4 separate regions of the Homo sapiens genome follow, and regions 2, 3 and 4 are each linked to region 1. Evidence: promoter capture Hi-C in 16 types of primary human blood cells and fetal thymus (Javierre and others, 2016). All regions are on one chromosome and are shown on one strand. The core of a region is centred on a gene start or on the middle of the fragment in contact, and the rest is flanking DNA. Distances in the headings are between cores, read along the strand shown. Region 1 holds the start of EMC2 (ER membrane protein complex subunit 2). Region 2 overlaps EBAG9 (estrogen receptor binding site associated antigen 9). Region 3 overlaps EBAG9 (estrogen receptor binding site associated antigen 9). Region 4 overlaps PKHD1L1 (PKHD1 like 1).

Region 1 (3,110 bases), core at 450-2,949:
TATATGAGCCTTTTTGATGTTTAGAGAGAAATAAGCTGAAAGTCACCCAGCTACTGAAAGGTAGAGCCTGGATTCAGATCTGGGAGTTCTTGTTCTTCCTATTGCACCAGGTTGCTTTACTGGAGCATTAAAATATGTGAATTTCTGAGTATTTTTTAACTTTTTGAATGAAAGATTTTTAAAAAGTCTGTTTAGAAAGAATGCCAGCTCATTCAGAATTGAATCCAAGTATATACATTCACTAGTCTTCTCTGTTGTTAAGTGACTTCTCTGGGGTCTATGGTTTGATGGTTTTTTTCCTTTTTTTAAACAAACAAACAAAAAAACCTCTGCGGTTGACTGGAGCCGACAGGTGAGGAATGGAGAGATGTTGGTCAAATAGTACAAACTTTTGGTTGTAAGATGAATATGTTCTGGAGATCGAATGTACAGCATGGTGACTACAGTTATAATTCTGTATTGTATACTTTGAAGTTTGCTGAGAGATTTTTAAGTGTTCTCAACACACACACACACACACACACACAGGAAATATGTACGGTGATAGATGTGTTAATTAGCTTGCTTGTGGTAATCATTTCACAGTGTATATTTACATCTAATCATTACTTTGTATACCTTAAATATACACAATTTTTGTCCATTACACCTCAATAAAGCTGAGAAAAAAAACCCTCCACTCTTTTGACTTGTGGGATAGTATTATTTCTACTTCTCAAATCAACTGCCCCTTCTTTACTGACCAATAACTTTCGGCTGCATTGCAGTGATTTTTAGTTTTTTCTCAGCTTACATATTTCCTCTACAATCTCATGTCCCCATTGCTTCAAATACTAAATATACGCTTATCATCCTCAAATTTTTTACTTCCTGTCCAGACATTTCTCCTTAAGTCTAGGAGATGACGTCCAAAGTTTCCTAAAAGCAATTAGTCTGGTGGGAAAGGAGGCTCCCCCATCCACCCAGGAGTAATGAGGAGCGAAGTTCAGGAACTGTGAAGGTCTCATTCGTACATTCATTCCTTATAAGTACTTACATACTCGCGACAGTTTGAAACCTAGTGTGGCATGCAGACATGGATGAAGCAATGACAGGCACGACGAGCGTTAATGAAGGGTATAAGCTAGCGCGAGGGCATTCAAGGGAACTTCAGAGCGCAAAGGAAGAATCCCACTTAGTCTCTCAAAACTTTGGAGTTTATCCGTTTAGTCGATTAAAAAGTGAACGGAAAGCAAATCCCATTACGGAAGGAGGAAAGTTGGGGACAAATAAGGGATTCGTGCAGAAGGCTGCACTGCGGCCGGCCATGAAGAGAATAAGGGTACTTAAGGGAGTGTGAAGAGAATGAACAAGCCTAGGTAGAAAAAACTGAAAAGCCAGGATTGACGGACACTAAAAACCCAGCATTTGTTAAAAATCCACGTCAACACACACACACACCTCACCCCGAGCCAGCACCGTAGCCCCGCCAGCAGCCAGGGTATCCTGAGATTGCGGGAGCGCCACGCACCGCCCACCTAGCTCCGTCCACCGTCCAGCTCGCTCCGCCCAGCTCGCTCCGCCCCCTTCCCCGAAAGCCCCTCCGCAGAGCCGCGTGCACGTGCGTGGCGGATACCGCCCCCTCTGCTCTCTTGGCCAATGAGAAAAAGCTACGTAACTCTCCACCGCCCGGTGGCGGGTCACGTGACTGCGTCTCCCCGCCCTCTCACCCCGCTGCCTCTAGGTTCTGGGAAGATGGCGAAGGTCTCAGAGCTTTACGATGTCACTTGGGAAGGTAACTTCGGGTGGGGGCGGGTGCGGAAAGACTAAAAGCGCTGGGAAGCCGTTCGGGAGTACCCGCTGCTTTCGGGGAGCTGGGTTCTCTGGTGTCTTTTTGGTACCAGAGCCCTCACTGTACGGGCCAAGCTGAGGTGGAGGCTGAGGCTGACCCTTCCCTTGGCCCGGACGCGTACTCTGCAGCGTTTCCCACGGTGTCTGCTCCTCGGTTGACCTGCCCTCCTCCGCGCCAGTCCAGCGTCCCGGGGCCGCTTTTATTTATGAGGCGGGCGGGAGGGACTTGGGGCTGGGGTTGTCGCACGCTAACTGGTTGCTGGGCGGTGCGGAAGAGGCGGAATAGGTGGTTACTGAAGCTTCTTTGGAGCCAAGAAACACAGGGCCTGTAAGGCCCTTTACTAAGTGGTGTGTAAGGATTACAGCTCTGTGCAGAAAAGCTGTGTAAAAGATGCGTGAACAAATGTGATTCTCATATGCCACTCTACATTTAGTTTTCTTCTTAAACCCGGGTTTCCAGTTTCTTTTCCTTTTAGTCTAGTCTCTGTCCCACTCCTTCTCAAAACACATTTACACACACAACACAACTTCTTTCTTACTCCCTACTAGTAGTTTCTTTTCTGAAGGGAAAAATAACTAATTAACTCTGGGCTACGTAAGTGCTTACGTGTGATGGTCACTTTTCCCTATCCTTAGTTGATCTAGAGTGGGATATGTTCTTTAAATCTGGGAACAGCCAAACCTTGGATCAATTCTGTGTGCTTAAGAAACTTGAGTTTCATTAAGGCGTGGAATTTGTGTAATTGGAATTCATATTCCCAGCATTTAACATAATACAGGAGACTTCAGTAGCTAATTTGCTTAACGAATGCCTTCTTGGGATGTTTTAATAATGACCTGAAAACATGTGGACCGAAAGTTGTATTTTCTGTTTTATCGTGAATAAATATATCAGTTATTATAAAGTTGTAAATCCGTTACAAATAAAGCAAAATTTCTTTGTACTTGAACTGAATTAAATGATTTATTGACTTTATGGCCTCTAGCACGTTGTGAATCTCAGTATTTATACCTGAATTGAGGGATTCCATTATATTAAACAACAGTGTTGATTTCTTACTGCAAAATCTTGGCTCTGTCAACACACAGTCCCCACTTCCAAGGAAGTCACAATCTAATGGAGAAAACAAACCTGTAAACACACAGTTTTAAAAGGCTTGTGTCAGGGTATCTTCCGTAAGCTGAGTCGTAGATAAATGGATGTTATTTTTAATGCTTTTTAAAAAATGTTTTAAATATTACATAATTTTTAGAAAATGCTATTATGAAGGTATGTTCAT
Region 2 (3,110 bases), core at 365-2,864, 1.1 Mb after region 1:
GACGTTATGTAGGTTACCTGTGTTCTTGGCTAGGAAAACATTATTGATTCATTAAATCATAAAGGTGGGAATAATAATCTTTTATTTATGATGTTGATTGGCTCCAAAATAGTCTTAAGGAAATAAATACTGGGTCTGTAGGGGAAAAGTAGACTTCATAGTTTAAAATCCCATTAACCTTTTCACCGCAGTTGAAATGCATCCAGCCTGATTTTCCTATCATTTTGGAATTTTTAAGGATTTTTACTTTCTTAAGTTACTGCCTAGAATCAACATTCGGTGAGATTTTGAAATGTCATAGATACTGTACAGGCCAAACCTTACTAATTTATTTTACTTAAAGTGATATTTTATAGAAAAATCATAAGTTATACAATGAGAACCCTTTAAGCCCTTAGCCTAAGCTTTCAGACTAAATGTGATTATAGAATAAGATGAAAGTTAACTTTGGTACAGAGCTTTTTATAGCCCCAAATTATATTTCCAGTTATTATATTCATTAGAATTTCTGCTAATAAACTCCCAACTTAAATAGAATTGGGCTCAAAGTTTTAATAATGTATTCTCTTCCTTCTTTGTATTTATAGTTAGTTATTATGGGAATACAACATATCTTCTCTAAATTTGGAATTCATAAAGGATAACTTCCTTTAGCTCAATTACTTGTATTGCTTTTCCCTAGTAGCTGAAAAGTATTTAAGTTTGGTTTGGTCATGATTTTCATGTGTTTGAGGTTTTTGTTGTTGTTGTTTGGCTTTTTGGTTTTTGATTATTTAAAAATAAAGACATTAGCAATTATAGTTAGTATGATTAGGAAGAAATAGATTTTTCTTGTGGAAAGAATAGATAACAATTCTGGAATTTATTTTATCTCTATTGATGTGTAAACTAAATTCCTGTATTAACTTGGGTATATTTTGGTCCCAAAAGTAGTCACTGAGTTAAATGCATATGACAAACAATTCATGGTAGCATACTGTCTCTTTTAGCTACTAAATTTATGGTTTCTATTTTTTGTTTTCTTGATTTCAATAAAGAATTGTCAGTTTTAGATGCTTATTAGAAATAATAAGAAATACTGGTAGGCATAGATAGAATTAGTGAAGTTTTAACCATTAGCAAAATCGTGCATTTCATGTACTGAGATAACAAGTAATCAAAGACATGGGAAACTTACCTTGTGTTTTTTTTTGTTTTGTTTTGTTTTTTATGTAGTAATTTCATGGTTTCTAGCCATTTCCTCTTCTTAAGCTTTACCTAGGGATATTCTCTACTTGGCTCTTCTTTTAGTATAGCATGTTTAATTGAGTTGACATTTTAGAACTGAAAATTTGAAATTCTGCATCCGAATTTCTCAGTTTTGACATGCACTTGCCTCTGGGTGATTATTTCTAGGTTGTTTCTACATGAAGATTGGTGATTGGGCAGAAGGTACCTACAGAAACCAGCATCTGGATCGAGCTTCCAACACCACTCTACAAGCTACCACCATGGCGTAAACCTAACCATAGTCAGTGTTCCAAAAAGCCTGAATTTTGTTGAGAATGGTATGTTTACTAAAGGATGGTTTGAGCCAGACAGAGCTAACATACTCATCTTGTTTGATCCTATGAAGTTCAGATTTGGAATAACCAACGATGGTTTTCATACTCCTTAAACCCCTTGCTCAAAGGAAATCTTCAGGCATGTAAGCAAACATGACAGGGTTCCGAATGGATCCCTGCTGGGAGGTTGGGAGTGGGCTAGAGCCTACAGATTGTTCCAGGGAAGGAGCTAATACCCTCTCAGGTGAACTGGAGGGCTGAAGAAGATAGTGGGTTCATGAAGAGCATATTTAGTAGCTAATAACTTAAACTTGTTTTTGTCATTTGCATAGTTTTTTTTTTAAATTTGAACTGCTCTGTCCTAATACAATACGAAGAGATTTATTTTTTTCTTTGTGTAATTCCTTTCACTTTTCTTTAACCAAAACTATCCCAAGCTTACAGCAACAGCTAGGTACTCTTTTTATACTCAACTGTTTTTTGTTTTTTTTACATTGCCTTCTGCTTTTTATCTTCCATCCCTCTTGGTCATGACCATTGGGCATACTCAATAACCAGAGTAGGTTTTGAGAGCTAGTAAAATGCTTTTTCACCAGACACCTTCGATCTTCTATAGCTTGAAAGAAACACTCTATTCTAGGGACCTCCTTGACCATCTTTTACCTTCAACAACAGATTTGTTTCTATCCTTTCATACCTCCTGCTGACACTGCTAGTTCACCAGTGGAAACTTTTGCAGAGAAGCTCACTGAAAGTCTGCGGCCAGTCCAAGATAATCCCAGCCTTCCCTTTCAGGGGACTTCTTTTCAGGGGATCTTTCTGTAGATGCTTTCCTTATATACATTGATCAGATCACCCCGGCTCTGAGAGGTTCCCAGAGTTCTCAGAGCTTCTGTAGAGGTAGTACAGCATTAAACAAATTGCCAGAGTTTGCAAATCTTTTAAATGGAAATGGTGGTTGTAAGGATTGAGACTGTACATAAGTGTTCAGTATAAGCACTCAATAATTGGAAGTTGGTATGAGGCCCTATATACTTCCCACATCTCACCATGCAGTGGTATTGGCAGCCCCTTCCCTGCAAAGAGTGGGAGAAGTTGCCTAATCTTGCAGTATTTTATACACCTTTAAATTGAACTTGAAATTTAGCAAGAAAGAAAACATTTATTGTAAGTCTGAGTCTTTGACTAATTATATCAGTGACTCTTAGCAATCCTGTAAGAGATACTACCCTTATTTCACATATAAGGAAACCAAGGCCTAGAAAATAAATTGTGTACTTGATTAATGGAATGGAAAATAGCAACCTTAGAGAGGAGGTTATAATAGTGGTTAATCAACAGTCTATGTAGACTATGATTTCTAAGGCCTCTCTTGACGGAACTATGAGCCGCCAAAATGCCTTTTAAAGTTTCTCCTAGTTCTTAATGAAGATAGCATTACAAATTATAGTAGATAATACCCATTTGTGTTTTCTAATAATTTAATAAATATGAAGAAAATTAGCTTGGTTTTTATTTTCATATAAATGACAACTGTAGTTGAATATCAGTGCCATATAATTTCAT
Region 3 (3,110 bases), core at 318-2,817, 1.1 Mb after region 1:
TTTTTTTACCATTAAGTCTCATATTACTGTAGGTTTTTCATAGATGTTTTTGATCAGGTTGAGAAAGTTCCCTTATACTTTGCTGCAATTTTTTTTTTTAACAGGAATGGATGTTGAGTTTTGTCAAAGGCTTTTTCTGTCTCTATTGAGATGTTTATATGGTTTTTTGTTTTTAGTTTGCTAATATAGTGAATGACATTTGATTTTTAAATGTTAAACCAATCCAACATTTCCAAACTAAGCACCAGTTTTTCACAATGTAGTATCCATTTATATATTGTTGGATTTAATTTACTAATATTTGGCTAAGGAGATTTGTGTCTAGATTCATAGAATATTAATAGTTTTCTTTTCTAGTAATATCTTTGGATTAGTATCAGTGTAATACTGGCCTCAAATAATGAGTTGGGGAAATATTCCTTCTTCAGTTTTTTGGCAGTTTGTATAGAATTGGTATTATTCCTTCCTAAGTGTTTTGTAGAATTTACCAGTGAAGCCATCTGTGTCTGGGAGATTTTTATAACTACAAATATAATTTCTTTAATAGATATATAGATTTTCAGGTTGTTCTTCTTATGCTTTAGTAATTTGTGTCTTTCAGGGAAGTTGTCCATTTCATCTCACTTGTCAAGTAAATACAGGCACAAAGGTGTTTGTAATAGTTCTTCAGTATCCTTTTAATATCTGCAGACTCTAACAATGTTATCTGTCTTGTTTATGATATTGGCAAAAGTCTGTTATTAAGGACACGTGTTTTAGATTGTTATGTACTTTTTATTAATTGACCCCTTTATCACTGTGAAATGACCACTTTTATACCTGGTAATGTTATTTTTCCTATAATCTGTCTAACATTGAAATAGTCACTTCACCTTTCTTTTGATTAGTGCTAGCATAGTATATTTTCTCCTATCCTTTTACTTTTAACCTATTTGTGTCTTTTTATTTAAAATGCATTTCTCATTGGCAACATGGAGTGGGGCGGTCTTTCTTTCTTATTCAATCTAACAATCTCTGCTTTTCAATTGGAATGCTATACAATTTGCATTTAATGAGATTATTGATATGGTTAGATTTACGTCTGTCATCTTATTTGTTTTTGGCTTGTCCCATGTGTTATTTGTTCTCTTTTCTTTGTTTCCTGCTGCCTTTTCAATTGAGTAGTTTTTATCTCCCTGCTTGTCTTATTGGTTATGACCAGTCCTTGCCCCTCAGAATATATGATTTAATGGACTTACTAGAGGTACTCCTAGGTATTGGCATTTCTTTAATAGATTCCCAGATTTGTGAACCACTGGACTAAATGAGCTCCATGGTAACTTTCAATTTACTAGCTATGTGACTTTGGTCAAGTTATTTGACCTCTCTTAATTCAATTTCCTCATCTATAAAATGGATATAAGGAAATATATTCATCTGCAAGTTAAAAATATTTAAAGTATTTTAAATAGTATTATGTTCATGTGGTTCAAACTTTAAAAGGTACACAGAGATTTAATATATTCTATTTTATACTTTTTTATTTTTTGAATTGTAGATTTTTGTATTAATAGATTTAGGTAAAATTATTTTCAAAAACTCAGAATGAAGGGTTTTATCCTTACAACCATTGAAAACTCGAAAACCTGGTTTTTGACTTGTTAATATGATTTAAATTATAATTTTAAAATTTACTGTGTTATAGTTTCTAGAGAAAGGTAAAAAATATCTTAGATTTTTCTTAGTGCATAATAGGTCTTTTCAGGACAGGAGTATGACTTTTGAAATCAATTTAATGCATTTTTTGTTTTGTGCCTCTTCCACAGGTTTTGATTCCCACCATGGCCATCACCCAGTTTCGGTTATTTAAATTTTGTACCTGCCTAGCAACAGTATTCTCATTCCTAAAGAGATTAATATGCAGGTAAATAAGTTTTATGTTCAAACTAACCTGTTTATCTCCTCGCTGGTTTTGGATACCTTCAAAACTTCAAATTTCGTGGACAGGACAGGTTATATTTAAGCTGAATATCTTGATTGCAGTATTTATTCATTAATTCCTAGTCATTTTTAGATACTTTTTCTCTACTTCAGATCTAGAAAATAGAGGTTCAGTTGTTTTGTTCATTCAAATTCTTACACTTTCCACTAAAATAACATGCTTAATACTATTTAGGAATAGACAGACCAACTTTCATTATTATAATCATCACAGAACTTTGATGTATTCGTTTCATTATGGGAATGTTTTAAAGTGGTTAGGTGAAATTCGGAATAGGTATTTCTGTCTATACTACAATAGTGTTGTTTTTATATTTAAAAAAAAATCCTAAGAAAAATCCTAAAAAAAAAAAATTTTTTTTTCTGTTTGAGTAACATTCTAGAATATGCAGGAAGTCAAGAGCAGGTAAGTCATTTGCTTTAGGACATCATCTGTAGACTTCAGTTCCTTCTGTTTTGTCACACGATCATACCCAAGAGCTATGATGTCTAAAATGTGTGCTGAGGCACCTCAGGGCTTTACATGAAATTCACAGGGATGCCATAGAATATTTTAAATTTTGCAGTGAAACATAGTGATAGCATCTGTTGAATACCTCAACTCAAAGTAGTTCACATTTGCAACATTAAATCCTGCAGTATTTTTTTATGATGGTGTTCTTTAATGTTTGAGATAAGTTTTTGTTTACTTATATTTTTGGTGACATCTCATTGCAAAGCCAGGATTTTAGGTTGTAATTAAAAGCGAGTACTGCACCAAAATTAATGTAGAACTGAAAACAAGAATGATGGTCTCCAGTCTTATTCTAAGGCATAAGAAGCTGTGCAGTGTTCAACAGGCACACAAATTTCATTAATAAGTTCAGTGATTGTGGTTATTTAAGAATAAAATAAAAATATTACTTTTTCTTTAAATGTGTATTTTTTACAATGGCTACTAAGCAGTTAGGATATACTTAAGTTTTTTGGGTGTAACTACCTTATTCAGTGGAATTGTTAGGTGTTTCTGTGGCCTAAGGGTACTGTGAAAAAGTTACTTACATACTAAGAGGAGGGTATAGTAAAAGAGGAAATGGACAGCAATCAGCTCTTTTTTTAATATATATAGACATGACTTAGAGGTTACACAC
Region 4 (3,110 bases), core at 378-2,877, 1.1 Mb after region 1:
CTTAGTTAAAATAGAAACACTGAATTGTAAATGCTCTTTTAAGAGTTGGCATATAGCACTGTATAAATTAGATAGCTAGTAAAGTTAAATTTATATTTTTAAATTACCAAATGCCTTCAGTCAAGGCTTTAAAATTATGAGCATGTGAATAGGGTTTCAACTACAGTATAGGCTCCTGGGATCATAACTTGATTTGTTTCTCATTTATACTGTGTCTATATAGCTAATTTTTAAAAAACAAACAATGTGTAATGATTATTTGTGGTATTTTTTAAAGGAGTGGCTTTAATTTCGCAGGTCAGTTCTATAAGTGTTTTTGTTTTTAAAAAGGTATGCTTTCTTATGAAAGAATGATAAAGTTGAATTTGGGGGACTTTCTAAATTCAAACAAACATTAAGTAACGCATGTTGATTGTGATAATATAAAATACTTAGCTGTGATGTTCTGGCTTTTTTCCTTCATAGACCAATTCCTTCCTAACCTGGATTCCACTGTCCTTGGTGAAAACTACTTTGATGGAACCTACCAGATGCTTTATCTTTTGGTTAAAGGAACTATACCTGTTGAAATTCACACTGCCACAGTGATATTTGTTTCTTTCCAATTATCTGTTGCAACAGAAGATGACTTTTATACCTCTCACAATCTGGTTAAAAATCTTGCCTTGTTCCTAAAGATACCAAGTGACAAAATCCGTATCAGCAAAATAAGAGGGAAGAGTCTGAGGAGGAAGAGATCCATGGGATTCATAATTGAAATAGAGATTGGAGACCCTCCTATTCAGTTCATAAGCAATGGCACCACAGGTATGAATAACAGGTGTTTGAGATGGAGGAATGCAATTACCAAATCCATATCCATAAATAACCTGATCAGGGCTTGGTGAGCCTGGCCTCAGGAAATCCCATCAACCCCACATCCTGAACCCTCTAAGTGCCCAGAGACCCTTTTTCCTTCTTTGCTCCTGTACTACCAAACTGTTTTAGAATTGGAAGGAATTTGAATCTCTGTTTTGTTATTGTGATGATTAATAAGTTCAACAAAAGAATTTGATCTAATATAAAAAGATCTGGGAAGACCTACTTAAGCAAGTGACCTTACAGATGAGAGATTAAGGATGAAGATAGTCAATGAAAAGACAGAGGAAAAAGAGTGTTCAAGCTATGGAAACTGTTGGTGAGAGTTTGGTGCATTTGAAGAGAGGAAACAGGTCCGATTGGTCTGGAGTGGAAGGAGCCAGGAAGGACAAGCTGCTGGAGGTGTAGCCAAGGGGTAGACAGGTGCTAGATGTGGAAAGCTTTGGAAGTCAAAGGAAGGACTGTGGATGTTTTCTTAAGAAAAAGAGTAAATATTCTTGGATATTCTGAGCAGTAGATTGGTGGGTTAGATTTCCACAGTAAAGTCACAGATTCAGCCCAAAAAGGGCAGATGTGCAAGTACATAATCTGTCTTTATTTCCTGTGACTGAGCGAATCATCCTCACAAGCCATCATCCCCTCTCTGTGTCCCTCACTTCCTATTTTTTATCAGAGATAAAAAAATAAGCTCAACTGTCCCATCAGAGAAATCTCTGCTGGCTGAAATCATTTCCTTAGGGTCACTCAGTTTGGGCACTTGAGTAAATGCTCAGCTCTTCAAATTTTCTCTATCCATCTGCTCCTTTCAAGTTGGGGTCTGAATACCAAGGGGCTGTTCTGGCCTCCGTCCTCATGTTATCATCTTGTCTTCACAGCCTCTGGTACAGAGTGGGTCATCTTCTCTGCTCTACATATGCATCTCTTGAGGTACTACTGAACTTTCCTGGTCTTCTGGGATGCAATAATATCCCCCACTGCTAACCTGCAACCATGCCTTTGTCTTCAGTGGTCAAGCACAAGTACTCTGATCTAGGTGTACCCCTCCCCAAGAACAGGAAAGGCAGGTATCTGTCAGAGGAAGACTTACCATCCAGTTAATGAAGCTTACACTTCAAGCCCCCTCACTGATACAAGTCCTGGGAGGGGCTTTCACTTTCAATACCTTAGGAGAGGTCCTCATAATGTGGTCAAATCATTGAATGTTATTATGAAAGCTACAAAGGTATGATTTTTCTGCATTCCTTTTCCTAAAGAGATCGTCCAGACATATATAAACTGCAGCCCCACTAGGTTGGGATCTACCCTATCTACCTGTGTTCAGTCACTTTATCATTAAACTCCCAGGCTCTGTGTAAACCTGGGTACTGGGTGAAGTTCTCACTTTATGCCACTAGAGATCTTCACTCATTTTCCCAAGAGGTTTGCTTCTAGGCATTGACCCTATGCACCTACCACATTATCACTCTGGAATTCTATCAGCTAAGCAGGTGGAAGTTTCTTCCATTGGGGGGATAAGCCTGTGGGAAGGCTTGCCTGTGTGGAGGGAGGTGTTTATAAACTCTTGGTTAGAAGAGCGTAGGAAGCCTAGGCTTGTGTTGCAACCAGATCTCCCACGATGTTCTCTGCCCAGAGTAATAGTTAACTTTCCTTCGTCAGTTCTGTACTCACTTGGACTTACAGGCTCAGGGTTTGGACTCAGCATGACTTTGCCTGTTATTTTAGGAGTTGTAAAGGGCCCATGGCACATATACAGATTACTCACCTACTCTTAGAAATCCCTGGTGAGCCCTTACGTGTCGTGAGGTCCAAAATTTACCACACTAGCCACTAGATATCCAAAGAAACTGGGATTTATTTCTTACATGTGACATATATTTCCCCACATACAATCCCTCCTACATCCATCCCCTTAAAGCAGTTTTAGCTTGTTAGATTTATCCAGACAGGTATAAGACCACTGAAGAATGTAGAAGTTAGGGATGGTGGGAGGGACAGGCTAATGGCACATTTTCTAGACATAGACTGCGATAGTGTTTCAAGTCTCAAGGAGAACCCTACAACTTGGTGAATCACAGCAAAATGTTGAGAAGTGGCAAGAAAGATGTTCATGTAGTTGTACTCCTGGCTCCTTATAGCTTTTATATAGTATCAGGATATCCAGAAATTCCCAGATGTCCTAGAAAGGGGTTACCTATGTATTAAAGGCATTTATGAGCAGACAGTCCTACAGCCAGGAATAAGAGGCCTTCAAG

What was found. The method cuts DNA at HindIII sites, captures the fragments that hold promoters and counts their contacts. A CHiCAGO score of 5 or more calls a contact.
Region 2: a contact is called between a fragment that was not itself captured here and the fragment with the promoter of EMC2 in region 1, in 5 of 17 cell types (non-activated CD4 T cells, total B cells, total CD8 T cells and 2 more). The highest score is 9.3, in non-activated CD4 T cells.
Region 3: a fragment that was not itself captured here is called in contact with the fragment with the promoter of EMC2 in region 1 in 6 of 17 cell types (total CD4 T cells, non-activated CD4 T cells, naive CD8 T cells and 3 more); the score reaches 9.5 in total CD4 T cells.
Region 4: a fragment that was not itself captured here is called in contact with the fragment with the promoter of EMC2 in region 1 in 1 of 17 cell types (total CD4 T cells); the score reaches 5.6 in total CD4 T cells.

The regions. Positions count from the first base shown.
Region 1 is chr8:108,441,925-108,445,034 of GRCh38, forward strand. It overlaps EMC2 (ER membrane protein complex subunit 2), which reads left to right and starts at 1,700. Exons shown (of 11, transcript NM_014673.5): 1 at 1,700-1,774. The coding sequence starts at 1,735. LOC105375704 (a long non-coding RNA gene) reads right to left here and starts at 1,548. Exons shown (of 3, transcript XR_928530.4): 1 at 1,446-1,548. RefSeq lists a silencer at 1,534-1,653. The HindIII fragment of the contact is 5,303 bases long and covers 1-2,127 here.
Region 2 is chr8:109,565,460-109,568,569 of GRCh38, forward strand. It overlaps EBAG9 (estrogen receptor binding site associated antigen 9), which reads left to right. Exons shown (of 7, transcript NM_004215.5): 7 at 1-537. Among named protein-coding and RNA genes, the nearest start is that of EBAG9, 27 kb to the left of the region's middle. The HindIII fragment of the contact is 730 bases long and covers 1,250-1,979 here.
Region 3 is chr8:109,549,005-109,552,114 of GRCh38, forward strand. EBAG9 (estrogen receptor binding site associated antigen 9) reads left to right here. Exons shown (of 7, transcript NM_004215.5): 2 at 1,806-1,903. The coding sequence starts at 1,821. Among named protein-coding and RNA genes, the nearest start is that of EBAG9, 10 kb to the left of the region's middle. The HindIII fragment of the contact is 4,370 bases long and covers 1-3,110 here.
Region 4 is chr8:109,517,702-109,520,811 of GRCh38, forward strand. It overlaps PKHD1L1 (PKHD1 like 1), which reads left to right. Exons shown (of 78, transcript NM_177531.6): 73 at 466-807. Among named protein-coding and RNA genes, the nearest start is that of EBAG9UORF, 20 kb to the right of the region's middle. The HindIII fragment of the contact is 663 bases long and covers 1,297-1,959 here.